Regions from separate parts of the Homo sapiens genome. Here region 1 is linked to region 2. The links are contacts of gene promoters, found by promoter capture Hi-C in blood cells and fetal thymus (Javierre and others, 2016). All regions are on one chromosome and are shown on one strand. The core of a region is centred on a gene start or on the middle of the fragment in contact, and the rest is flanking DNA. Distances in the headings are between cores, read along the strand shown.

Region 1 (6,694 bases), core at 1,364-3,863, 310 kb after region 2:
TCAGATCCCAGATCCACTATCCACCAACTTTTAGGCCTTGGACAAGTTACTTAACTTTTATGTGTCTGCTTTATCAATTGTAAAATGGGGCTAAGAATGGCAAGTACTTTATGGGGTTGTTGTGAGCATTAAACAAGTTAAGTAAATATAAAATGCTTAGCCCAGTGCTTGACACATAGCAAGCACTATATGTTTAGCTACTTGCCAGTACTCTATTTGGGGGAATGGAGAAGCAATAACATGTTTGGCCCTGGCTGTTCTCAAGACAACTTTGCATCCCTAAGAAGCTCACCAAAGGTGAGGAAAGGAGGCTGAATAGGAGTGAAGAATTAGAAACCCAACTTGGGATAGAAAAGACTGAGACTTATACTGACTAGGGTTGGGTTGGGTGACCTTGTGCCACGATTTAACGTAAGTCTGTGTTCTAATCTGCCAAACACTTTCCTACCTTACTGGTTTGTGGTGAGACTTGCAGGATAATGTAAGTGAAAGTCCTTTGAAAATCACAAAATTCCACACAGGAGTAAGATAGCTGTGGTATAACAGAAAACCTGTCATCATCATGGAATTCCAAAGACCTGGGTTCAAATCCTATGTCTACCTCTCACTATGTGGTGACCTTGGACAAGGTACTTGACTTCTCTCTCTCCTTATTTTTAAAAGGTGGCATTGATCCTACTTGCAGGATTGTTTTGAAATTTAAATACATAGTATTCAGCAATATATGTTTGGATTTTTAAATTAACATCATTCATCCACAGATAATCCAGGAAGAGGATTTCATGTTGAGTTCTTCCATGAGACATTTATACTCCACCCATCAATTGAATGACAGCCCCTCCTGGTAAGGTCTTTCCTCATATCCTCTGGATCCTTTAAAAGCAGAAGATCACATGCTCTTCCTGGAAAGAAAGCTGAGCCAGGCTCAGCTGAAGCTCCAGGTGAGAGTCCGAAGCAAACAAGAACAGACATAAATGTCTCTGATTCCCTTCCCTCCCTTGGCTGCAGTACTGAGGTGGTGGGTGGCAGCCTCTGATGTGTGGCTCACCTCTGCCACCCTGGCCTAGGCTGGAGAAGCGTGGTGGAGAAAGGTGATGCACAGATCACAAAAGCGCGGGTTTGGGCTGGGTCGCCTAATCCATGTCGCATGAGCCTGCCAAAGCATCACCTTATTTAGCAGATGGGGATTGTCTTCTCAGCAGTTGAATGGAGCTGCTGGAAATACCCAGAGTTGCTATCCTCACCAACATTGCCCTCATTCACTGTAGGATCTTTCAGAACAGTATCTAAAGGGTCTGCCTACTGCCAGCAATCTGAGTTCCAATCCCTCACTGCCAGAACATTCTGTGTAAAGCTTGCCAGATGGCTGAGCACCCTGGATTTTTATTTCCCCACCTATAAAATTGGGGGCACTAAAACCAAGGAGTTATTCCCTCTAACCAAATTGCTCTCTGGTAGTCAACTGCAGTGAGAAGACTTCAGATTGCCTGTAACATAATTATGAGTGGAGGAATGCATCATGAGACAGTAGTCATTATCCTTGGCCAAAGTGAGCAGTCATCCCTCTCCACCACCATCTGCTGAGGATGAGGGAGCCATGGCTGCTGCCTCTTTCTCCATGGAGGTTCGCAGATCCCATTTTCAAGATAATCACCAATTTGTTCTCAAAAATAAAAAAAGAATAATTAACGTTCTGGGTATGCTGCCCCTGGACTAGGAATTAGCATTCTTTTCTTGTTGAAATAAAAGCTTGTCACTAGTGAAGCAATTTTAACCAATGAACAGTAAAAATAATTACCATATAGAGCAAGATTTATAGTGAAAGCTTGATAAAGAAGCAAACATCTAAGTACAACTAAGTCCTTATGTTACTAAGGTCTTAGCTGTTAGCAACCACAATTTGTTCTGATTCTGGTCTTATCTCTACACTTGATTAAAATACACACCAGCTCACCCCTCATTCTTTATCTGGTACTTGGATCTCTCCCAGGGCTTATGCAGGGCAGAATTCTATCTCCCAAGATGGCCCTGATTAAAAGGTTCTGTGATTACATAAATTTGGGAAATGAAAAATCTATAGCTCTTTCCTGGGATTTTAGTAAAGTTGTTTAGTATATTAAAAGCCCAAAGAAGTCCTATAGAAAATAATGTCTTTGCCTTAATTTAATCACAGCTTCCCAAATTTAACAACAAAATCTTTCTATCTTAACATCTACTAACATGCTGTCAAGTATACTCGGGAAACGCTAGTCCAACTAGCCATCCAGGATGGATGAGAATGTGCAGATAGACCAGTGCAGATAGACCAATCAGAGGATTAGGGCATAAGGAGACATCCTCATTCCTGGAGAAAGAGCACTTGCTCCAAGTGAGCTCCTCATCCCTGGAGAGAAAGCACTTGCTCCAAGTGAGATAGCAGGAAACTGAGAGCAGACTAAGGCCTGGGGTTGAAGATGCAGCAAGAAGGGCACTGGGACGCCGAAAACTGAACAGGTTCTCTAAAGACAAGCTCTCCTGTCAATGAATATTTCTCACCAATAAATGGATTTGGCTGAATATTTCCAAAAACCGTGGATATTTCATGGGCATGCTGGATTTTCTGGAACTCAAATAACTTCATCTCCTCCTCTCTTCCCTTGCAGCTTGAAAGAGTGGAAAATATGGAAGCCTTGGAATTAGACGAGCCTGTGTTCAGATCCCAGCCTTGCCACTTTCCAGTTGCATGGCATCAGGCAAGACATTTTACCCTCTGGACCTCAGTTTCCCATTCAGCAAATGGGAGTTAGCACAGCCTCCTCATAGAGTTGCAGTGGGGACTGTAGGAGGTAAAGTTGGAAAACCCTTACACAAAGCAGGTGCTCAACACTTGGCAGCCCTTGTGATGATGATGTCAATGTAGGAAGCCCTCCTAGAAGGTGTCAGTTTGGAAGCTGAAGAGGAAGGAGGAGTTCTAAGGGGTAGCCCAGTTTAGGGTCAAGGCAACAGTGAAGTCTTTGATTATTTTGCAACAAGTTGCAAAGAATCATACTGTCTGTATTGAGAATTACATAAAAGCCATTTTCCCATGTCTGGCCAAGCCATTTTCCCACTACAGGGCCTCGTCAGTAATGCAATCTATCAATCAGCAAATACTTATTGATCTACTACATACTTTTTAGAGGTGTGGGGACTATGTTTCAGTGAAAACAATTTCCTCTTTCAAATCTTAACTCCTATTGCCCATCTGTGAATAGAATTTTAAAACAGCTAACATTGACTGCCTAACATATACAAGTCACTGACAGGTTGTTTACATGTGTCATTTCTAATTGTCACAAAAACTTTGTAAGGTAGGAATTTTCATTCACATTTTACAGATAAGGGCATGAGGTTAATTAACTTGCCTCAAGTCAATTCACTTGCAAGCTTGGATTTTAATCAGACTGTCCAATCCCAAAGCCTGTCGTAAATTCGTGAATGCTTTTCTTCTGCATAGACTTTCAGCAAGTCAAATTACACCATCCCAAAGTGAAAAGTCCACTTTGACATGTAAAGAACCCACCAATATTCTCTCCACCTGACCACCACATGATAGGTTGGACACCAGCCATGTGCAACCTACCATGCTAGCCAGGGCCACCAAGGCACTGGTCAGGACAGTCTCTCAGGGACAGAACACATGGGTGTGCATGGAATTTATAGATGACAAGAGCCGCTCCATCATCTGCAATGTAAAAGGTCTTCACCCTGTTGGAGAAAGAGCAAGAGGCCAGGAGTTTGCGCTGAGCTTAGCTGCTTGCTGGGTCTTAGATGTTGGAGTTGACCACTTGGCCCACAGGAATGATTAGCCACAATCTTCTCTTTCACTTTTTTTTTTTTTTTTTTTTTTTGAGACGGAGTCTCACTCTGTTGCTCAGGCTGGAGTGCAGTGGCACAATCAAGGCTCACTGCAACCTCTGCCTCCCAGGTTCAGGAGATTCTCCTGCCTCAGCCTCCCGAGTAGCTGGGATTACAGGCGCCTGCCACCACACCCAGCTAATTTTTGAATGTTTAGTAGAGACGGGGTTTCACCATGTTGGTCAGGCTGGTCTTGAACTCCTGACCTCAGGTGCTCCACTCGCTTCGGCCTCCCAAAGTACTGGGATTACAGGCATGAGCCACCGTATTTTGTTTTTGCTCACCAAACAGGTAATCAAGATGCACCTTTAAATAATACATTTGTGTTGCATGTTAAAAAAAAAAAAAAAAAAAAAAAAACCCCAACCTTAGAAGGTAATGGTCAGATCTGCCTTGAAGCATCAACTTGTGTTGATGAAAATAGTTTTAAACTTTGTGAATTCCATTGTGGCATCAAGGAGGAACACCCATCATTATCAAGGTATTCTCCCAATCAATCTCAATGGCTTCTCTGTCTGGAGATCAGAACTCCCCAGAGTTAAACGTGGGCCTGCTCACCATCACAGAGCCTTAGCTGTAGAAATCTCGTCTGCTAATGTAGGAACTTCAGGTTTGGTTTCTGGCTCAAAACTATGGAAAGTCGTTAGTCCACATACAAGGGAGGACATCCTAGAATCCAAGAAGACACCAGCCGGCCCCATTCAGCAGCATAGCACAGTAGTTGCATGTGTACACTTTGGATTTGAGGCCAGATCTGCCACTTCCCATCAGTCATGTTACTCTGCTTCTCCAAGCCAGTGTCCTCATCTAGAAAATGAGGATAATTGCCGCCTGCCTCTTATGGCAGTTGCAAAGGATGAAATGAGATGACATATGCAAAATGCCCAGAATATGACTTGCACTAGTCACAAAAGTTAGTTGTTTAATCCAGTTGTTTTTGTTAAATATGTCAGGGCAGTAATTATCTTTAAGAGTCTACCCTACCCTTTTCAAAATCTCATTAGCTTAGTGAAGCTCACAGTGCCTGCTATGTGCCAGGCATTTTGCTGGTCACTGAGGAGCACAAAGATGAATCAGGCAGAGCCATCCCTTCGAGTAACTTCTATCTTAATGTGGAGAACAGGCACTGAAACTAGTCATTTTAATATAATACGGCACATGATAAAAAGGGATAGACAAAGTCCCATGGGAGTCCAGACAGATGCTCAGTGCCATGGAGGGTCTAGGAAGGTTTTCAGAAGGCAGTGCCTGGGTAATCCTCAGTGATGAGTGAGGCAGGGCAAGTGGGTGAAGGCGGGATGAGCATTCCTGACAGAGAACAGAGCATCAAAGGCACAGAGGCGTGAGAAAGCCAGGTTGATACCAGAACTGCAGGCACCTTGTAGGCCATTTGCACAGGTCTTGAAAGTCTCCACATAAGGCCACACTGTTTCCTTGGCTTTTTTCCTATGTCTTCATCCAGAATAAAAGGGCATTTCCGTTTTAAAATAAACAAACTTCGGCCAGGCATGGTGGCTCATGCCTGTAATCCTAGCACTTTGGGAGGCCGAAGCGGGCAGATTGCCTGACTCAGGAGTTCGAGACCAGCCTGGGCAACATGGTGAAAGCCGGTCTCTACTAAAATACAAAAAAAAAAAAAATTAGCCAGGCATGGTGGCATGCACCTGTAGTCCCAGCTACTCGGGAGGCTGAGGCAGGAGAATCACTTAAACCCATGAGGTGGAGGTTGCAGTGAGCTGAGATCATGCCACTGCACTCCAGCCTGGTGGCAGAGCGAGACTCCATCTCATAAAAAAAAAAAAAAAAAACTTCTACAAATACATACTTCCCTCAAATCCACAAGGATCTCTATCCAGTTCAACTATAACCCATATCACTGTAACTAAAGATCTTCTCCCAAGGAGAGAAATGAATGAGACGACCTCTTGTTTGGCACAGCTTTCTCTGCAGTGGCACTGTGGACATTTGAGGCTGGCTGTTTATATGTTGAAGGGGGCTGGCTTGTGTGATGTGGGATGTTTAGTAGCAACCTGGCTTCTACTCTCTAGATGCCAGTAGCACTCCCCGACTTGTGACAACCAAAAATGTCACTAGACATTGCTATATGTTCCCTGGGGAGCAAAATTGCCCCCACTGAGAGTCACAGCATTAGTTCCACCTAGAGTCACCTTCTCCTGCCACCGTCTTCTCCAGTGGTTGACGGAGCTGTCACCATTCAGTCTCATCACCACAGATTCCAAAAGTATCAGATTCTCCCAGCACACCTCCATCAATGGTTCCCTAGGAGAGCCAAGTCACCTTCAGCCTTCAGCCTGGACTGGAAGTGTTGATGGGGATTAGCTCTATCTTAGGCACAACAGAGATGTGTGTTAGACAATGTGTATGCCAGAAGGGCTTGTGAAGGATGTAGTGAAGATTCAGATAAAATGTGTGAAGAAGCATTTTCAGAACTTAAGTGAGTTTTTCTCGGTCATCCCAAGATTATCTCAAGGTTCCCACACTTTTTGTCTTTGTCTTTGTCTTTGCATAGAGGGAGAATACACATGGGCTGAAGTGCTGAGAAGGCAGAGAGAAGAGGCAGTCCAAATCCCAGAAAGTGAGATCTCTGATGCTTGGCTAACAAACACTCCACCCAGTTCTAGGCAAAACAGAGAAGAGTCATGTAGAGATTTACCTGCAAATTACACAAAACGTTACATGCAAAACTTGATCATCAGCAGTCAAGTCTAGATTATCCATAGGCAAGCGCTGAACTACTTTCAAATTCTTGTGGAAAACAACCCTCTGATTTCCTTAACTGAGCCTTTCATAGGTGTGA
Region 2 (6,926 bases), core at 4,096-6,595:
AAAAATAAAAAGGCGTTTGTCAACTGAAAAAGCTGAAGAAATATTGGTACCATGCATTATTCTAAAACCTGCTTTATTTAGAAATTACAAAGAGCAAAGAGCAGAGAAATCATCACAGGGAGAAAGACTGTGTACATCATACGACTAGTCACTTGTGCTTCCATGCATACTGCGGGGCGGGGGTTCACAATACTTTTAACTTAGGGAGTTTGGGGGCCAATGGAAAATAAGTGGAAGTTGTTCTGAAATAAGCCCCAGGCGATTTTCAGTAATGAAAAGGAACAGAGATCATTTTCTTATAATGCTCAGCCTCAGAGAGAACAATTTTGGAGGCAAGAAATTAATAATTTAGTAACAAAGTGAAGCTCCATTGGTGAATACATTATGATGTAAAATCAAAGGTTGATCTGATGGTGAGCAATGGGTGCTCAGATGGGGCAGGTATAGACAGAGAGAAGTGAGGGCACTAAGCATCCATACCCAGCTCTACCTCGGAGAGCAGGGAAGACTAGAGGCCAGGAGAGGATAGGCAACCTGAGGAGACGGCTCTGCAGCCAGAGAAGGGCCTGAGGACTGTGGGACCGAGAGCTGGAGGCAGCACTTTAGTGCTTGTAGCTCTTCCTGCTGGAGGAGGAGGTGGTGGTGTACTTGATGGTGGAACTGCCGCCTCCAACAGAGCTGAGGCCACCCCCAATGGCTCTGCCACTGCTGGAACTGAAGCCACCTCCAATGCCAAGACCACTGCCATAGGAGTAGCTGCTTCCTCCACCCAGGCCTAAGCCACTGCCGACACCGCTGGCACCGCCATAGCCACTGGAGATGGTGGACTGTACTACAGCTGTGGTGGGGAGGGGACAAGGACACAAGAAGCCACGGTGAGCTCATCCTGCCGGCCTGAGCCCAGTCAGAAGAGTGCGAGGGCAGGGGAGGAAGGCAAGCAAAGGTACTTACAGACGTTGACTTGTCCAACGCCTTCGCCATTCAGCCTGTGGAGAGGAACACAGGGAGGGTGAGACCTCAGAGAGCTCTTCCTTCCCTGGACCAGTGTGGGCAGCCTCGGTGGGTGGAAGAGTCCATGGGAAACTGCTCTTTTAGTTTTCTCTCAAGAAGAGCAATTACGGCCATGAGCAGTGCACCCTAGAATTGTGCTCAGTGCCAGGAACCTTGAAGATGGACTCAGCTGTTGGAGGAAGTCGCGTCAGTTACCTACCTGCACTCCTCGCCCTCCAGCAGCTTGCGGTAGGTGGCGATCTCCACATCCAGGGCCAGCTTGACATTCATCAGCTCCTGGTACTCCTTCAGCAGCCGGGCCAGGTCCTGCTTGGCCTTCTGCAGGGCATCCTCCAGCCCTTCCAGCTTGTTCTTAGCATCCTTGAGTGCCATCTCCCCACGCTGCTCAGCATCAGCAATGGCAGCCTGCAGGCTGGCACACTAGGAGGGGAAAGGAAGAGAAGGAACTTCTTGTCTGCTCCTCCGGAGGAGGCTGGCCCTTGTTTAGTGAACCAGGGTCCTGTAACCCAAAATTGACAGAGAATGAGCTTTGACTCTTCCTGTCCAGTATTTCTCCATTTGGCAATATTTGTCTAGTCTGGGAGTCAAGTGACAAAGTCCTATGCCCCTTGTATTAAGCACCCGCATGAGAATGTGCGTTGCATCTTATGGGAGACACTACAATGGACCCAAAAACAAGCCATATGGAAGATGAATGCTCGGTTTGTACTGAGTGCTGTTTTCAAAACTACAAGAATGATTTTGAGGAATACATCTGGATGCCACATTAAAATATACAAAATTATGACCATCTGTAGGGGAGGTGGTAACTTTTTACCTGACTGTTGAGACCTGGCCTTGCTTGTGCCTCAGAGGCTCATCCTCTTGGGTGGGATTCACTTCTCTATTGAGTTCTCACTGAGGGCAAGAACTACACATGTTCCTCACCCTAGTGTTGGTTTACGTTTCAGGAATTATATCAAATAATGGCTAATGACTGCCTGATGGGTCTAGCAAAAAATGATGCTTCTTTCCTCCACTGCACCTCACTGTACCTGCTTCTTGACATGGTCGATCTCAGATCTCAGCCTCTGGATCATGCGGTTGATCTCAGCAATCTCCTGCTTGGTGTTGCGCAGGTCGTCCCCATGTCTGCCTGCTGTGACCTGCAGCTCCTCGTACTGCAGCCCAGAGGTGGAGAGAGAGACAGTGTCTACGGGTTCTTACCTGGGAGCGATGACTTTCACTTGTGTATCATGCATGTCATGAAGTGGACCTAATGGCTTCTCCTCAAGAAACTTGAGGAAAAGTTGATGTTATGTGGTGGGTGGATACTAAACTCTGGAGTCACAGACGATCCTCATTATGGCACCACTGCCTGCCTAGTTTCTTTAGGGAGTAGAAATATTCTGTACCAATTTCTAAAAGTCAGCAATCAGGGTGAAGATAAATGCAGAGATGACTATGTCCTTGTCTATGGCAGCTTTCCTCCTGCATTGGGTTCTTTTTCCTCCTTGACTTGCACATAAGTTCCCCAAATGTCTACTCTAATAGTGCAGAGTGCATGTCCTGTGAGAGGACCCCAGCTTCCTGTCAGGGGATGTCCCCAGTGAAGTCTGCAGTCCTCTGGTATTCCAGGATGGACACAAGGATTCCTCAGCAGCTGCCCACTCCCTGCTCACCTTGGTCTGGTACCAGGACTCAGCCTCAGCCCGGCTCCTCTGAGCAATCTCCTCGTATTGGGCCTTGACCTCAGCGATGATGCTGTCCAGGTCCAGGTTGCGGTTGTTGTCCATGGATAGCACCACGGATGTGTCTGAGATGTGGGTCTGCATCTGGGACAGCTCCTGCAGAACAGAAGGTCATAAGATCAACTTCACATCTGACATTTACAGAGATACCCAACCCTATACATCTTCTCCCCTTTGCAGACCCCATCAGAGTAAACAGAAGGATGGTGGAGATGCTTACTGCATCATACAAGGCTCTCAGGAAGTTGATCTCATCTGTGAGAGTGTCTGCCTTGGCTTGCAGTTCAACCTTGTTCATGTAGGCAGCATCCACATCCTGGGGAAAGAGCCAACAACCTGGAGTTACCTGAGCTCACCTTTCCAATCTACCCATCTTCTAGTCCTCCTGCCAATTCTCTCCCAGGGGAGCGAGGACACAGAGCCACTTCTCTCCTTCTAAATGAATTTGAACCCCCGGCTTCATCTGCTCACCTTCTTCAGAGTCACAAATTCATTCTCTGCTGCTGTGCGCTTGTTGATTTCATCCTCATATCTACAGGAAGAAAGGCATAGGACACATATGAGCCAGTGGGTAGGATGAAACAGAAAAGCAGCTTGGGATTCAACAATTTCCTGAATGGAATATATTCTAATTGAGCTTTCCTGCCACAGAGAGCCAAAGAGATGAGTTTTGCTACTACTAAATTTGCCACTTCTTTAATCCCCCCATCCTCCCATAACCATCTGTGGTTCTTGCAGGTTTGCTCCTAGGGACTAATTTGTGCTTTTCATTTCCATGGACATGGGTTGTTAGGAATCCTACACACATCTGGCCCTGGTCACCCAATAGTCTTGAAGTGTGTGCTGCAGGAAATGGAGTCCTCACTTGTTCTTGAGGTCCTCCACCAGGTCCTGCATGTTTCTCAGCTCCGAGTCCAGGCGGCCCCGTTCCCCGACGATGCTGTCCAGCTGCCTCCTGAGGTTGTTGATGTACTGCTCGAACAACGGCTCCAGGTTCTGCCTCACAGTCTTGGTGCCCTGCTCCTGCAGCAGGGTCCACTTGGTGTCCAGAACCTTGTTCTGCTGCTCTAGGAACCGCACCTGGAAGGGAAGCAAGATGGTCATTTTCCAGGCAAAGGAAGGAAGAAAAAGTGTCTGGTATCCAGTTTCCTGGCAGGTCTTGGAGGTCCCCATGGTGCTGGGCTACTACAGTGCATGTGGAGAGGCTCAGGCTGAGCTCTGCTCCCCCAACCCCTTCTCCTTTGCACCCCACCAGTCTCACTAGAGAAATTGTCCCATGGACCATTGAGGTGTTCTCACGCTGTAAGCTATTGATCATCAGTGAGTTTCAACATTTCTTCTCTTCTTTTTCCAGGCACAATCACAAATCTAGTTTAAAAATACTAATTACCTGATATATTGTACACAGTTTTTTTACTGATAGGATCTTAGTTAGGAGAGATATTATATGTTGACTCATGATTACATTTCAGTCTACTTTCCCATTTAGTGTCTCCTCTCAAATATTCTGATGTTATGGTCATTCTCTGTTTTTAAAATTAATTAGCATTTATCCATGTTTTACAGTTGTTTCTATGTCCCTTTTTTTCTTAATCCAGCCAGATTATCTTTTCCTTTTCTTTCTAAATCTTTTTCCTCTTACCCAGACCCCAGAGTGTAATTTACCAGCCCATATACTCCTGGCATTTGCTTTGTAATCTCTTAAACACTTCAGAGGGGAGAATTAACCTACTCCACTCTCTGATGGCCTCATCTGTGCTTCAGGGTTATGAAAAGTTACGGCTCTCCCTAGGCAGGAGTGAGGGCCACTCCAGAGATCCCATGGGGGAGTGATGCCCATCTGTGCTGCCTCCTGTGCACCGAGAGCCACCTGCACTCTCTGCAGAGCTGGGCTGAATCCCCTTCTCCCTCCCTCCTAGGTCTCCCTAGCAGGAAGGTGTTGCTCTTCTGGTCTGGGGACCCTGAAGTGCCCGATGGAGGGCATGGCACTGGCTCACCTTGTCGATGAAGGAGGCAAACTTGTTGTTGAGGGTCTTGATCTGCTCACGCTCCTCGGCCCGCACCCGCTGGATGGCGGGGTCAATTTGCAGGTTGAGGGGAGTCAGGAGACTCTGGTTGACGGTGACCTCTTGGATGCCTCCAGGGGGGCACACAGGGAAGCCAGGGCCCCCAAAGCCACCAGCAAGGCCGGCTCCACCACCCAGACCAAAGCCAATGCCGGCTCCACCACCGAAACCAAATCCACTCCCGGCGCCACCAAAGCCATAGCTGCCTCCGGCTCTGCTGCCATAGCCGCCACTGATGGCACAGCTGCCCCCTCCAATGGAGATCCTCTTGGAGCCCCCCAGGCCATACAGACTGCGGCTGCCAAAGCCAGCTCCTCCACATGCACCACCCAGGCCACCACTGCCCCTGGAGCGGGACACGGAGATGCTGCTGAAGCCAGAGCGGCTGACCCCAGGGAGCCTGGCTGAGTTGGCACTGAAACCCCGGCGGCTGCTGCTGTGGCTCCTGATGGTGGTGGATGTGCTGGCCATGGTTCCAGGAGATGAGAGGGCTGTGGCGAGCGTTGGAGGCTGGAGGCGAGAGGCAGGAGAAGCAGGACAAGGAATCGGGCTCCAGCAGTAGCTTATATATTATGAGAGAGCATGGGCTGGGCCCAGTCCTGGAAGGTGAGCTTGCAGGTTGGGAAGGGCTGGGCTTTACAAATAGTGAGATCACACCTGGATCAGAAAAGTTATGAAATGCTGAGATGGCATTTTTCACTTCCTTTAGTCAGGGAAAATGTTCCTGCCTCCAGCTTTGACTCGAGATTTCAGCACAGTAAGAGCATTCTCAGTTCATGAAGTTGAAGTTAGTCACTGTCTTCAGCAAAGGTTCTGCATGCTAGGCTGTTTATCAACATGCTGTGAGTGCTTTCCTCTTTCCAGCCTGACTTTCTTCCAGCAGAGATGTTGGAGATCACAAGCACTGTATTGCAAATGCCTTAACAGAAATATTAACATTTTTCCTGTAATTATTTTTCCTTCTGTGTGCAATTTCAAACATGTAGAGGAGCAGAACACAATGGGCCTGTATATACCTATTACCTGTTTCCATGATGATTACCTTATGGCCAGTCTTATTTCTTGTATATTTCCACCCGGTTCCCTTATCAATGTTAAATTTTTTTAAATCCCAAAAATATTTGGGATTTAATTCAATATTAATTCAATATTAATCTTTAAATGATAGACCTTTTAGAAATATAACTGAAATATTATTTTGTATTTTAAAAATGTATGTATTTATTAAGTCTTCGCCCTCAAGGAGTTGACTCTAATAAAGATGACAACACAAAAGGAGATAGAAGACATCACATCCAGTGGCATCACTGAGCTAGAAAGAAAGTAATGCTTTACTAGGAAGAAAAGAGCATAGAGAGGGGGTGTAGAGGGGACAGTGGGGAAGGGTAATTTTTTTTCTTTTTTTTTTGAGATAGAGTCTCTCTCTGTCACCCAGGCTGGAGTCCAGTGGTGCGATCTAGGTTCACTGCAACCTCCGCCTCCCAGGTTCAAGAGATTCTCTCACCTCAGCCTCCTGAGTAGTTTGAGATTACAGGTGGCCACCATCAAGCACGGCTAATTTTTTGTATTTTTAGTAGAGATGGTGTTTCGCCATGTTGGCCAGGCTGGTCTCGAACTCCTGACCTCAGGTGATCCACCTGGCTCAGCCTCCAAAAGTGCTGGGATTACAGGCATGAGCCACTGCTCCCAGCCAATTTGTGTATTTATTAACATCAATGTGTCTATTCAATTCTCCAATGTCCTTTTTCATTTATTTCCTTATTGTTTACAATTCTTTTGTTGATAAGACCAGGTTAATTGTCCTGAGTAGTGTTTCAGTCTTTGGGATTTCCTCATTGCTTACTCACAGTGTTTCATTTAAGATGCTACTGTGTCCTCTATATTTCCTGCAAACTGATCATTAAAACTTGAAGCTTAATAAGACTCTCATATACTTAGACTTTCCAGATGTGGATGTAGTAGAATGCCTATTTAAATACTGAAAATTGGCCGGGCGCAGTGGCTCACGCCTGTAATCCCAGCACTTTTTGGAGGCCGAGGGGGGCGAATCACCTGAAGTCAGGAGTTTTAGACCAGCCTGGCCAACATGGTGAAACCCCATCTCCACTAAAAATACAAA

What was found. Contacts are between HindIII fragments. The CHiCAGO score rates a contact against its expected background, and 5 or more counts as called.
Region 1: a contact is called between a fragment that was not itself captured here and the fragment with the promoter of KRT6C in region 2, in 1 of 17 cell types (endothelial precursors). The highest score is 6.7, in endothelial precursors.

What each region holds. Positions count from the first base shown.
Region 1 is chr12:52,779,075-52,785,768 of GRCh38, forward strand. No RefSeq gene overlaps it. Among named protein-coding and RNA genes, the nearest start is that of KRT76, 5.1 kb to the left of the region's middle. The HindIII fragment of the contact is 1,580 bases long and covers 1,824-3,403 here.
Region 2 is chr12:52,468,460-52,475,385 of GRCh38, forward strand. It overlaps KRT6C (keratin 6C), which reads right to left and starts at 5,346. Exons shown (of 9, transcript NM_173086.5): 1 at 4,739-5,346; 2 at 3,607-3,821; 3 at 3,213-3,273; 4 at 2,962-3,057; 5 at 2,673-2,837; 6 at 2,046-2,171; 7 at 1,211-1,431; 8 at 952-986; 9 at 57-838. The coding sequence starts at 5,278. The coding sequence ends at 603. The HindIII fragment of the contact is 8,852 bases long and covers 1-6,718 here.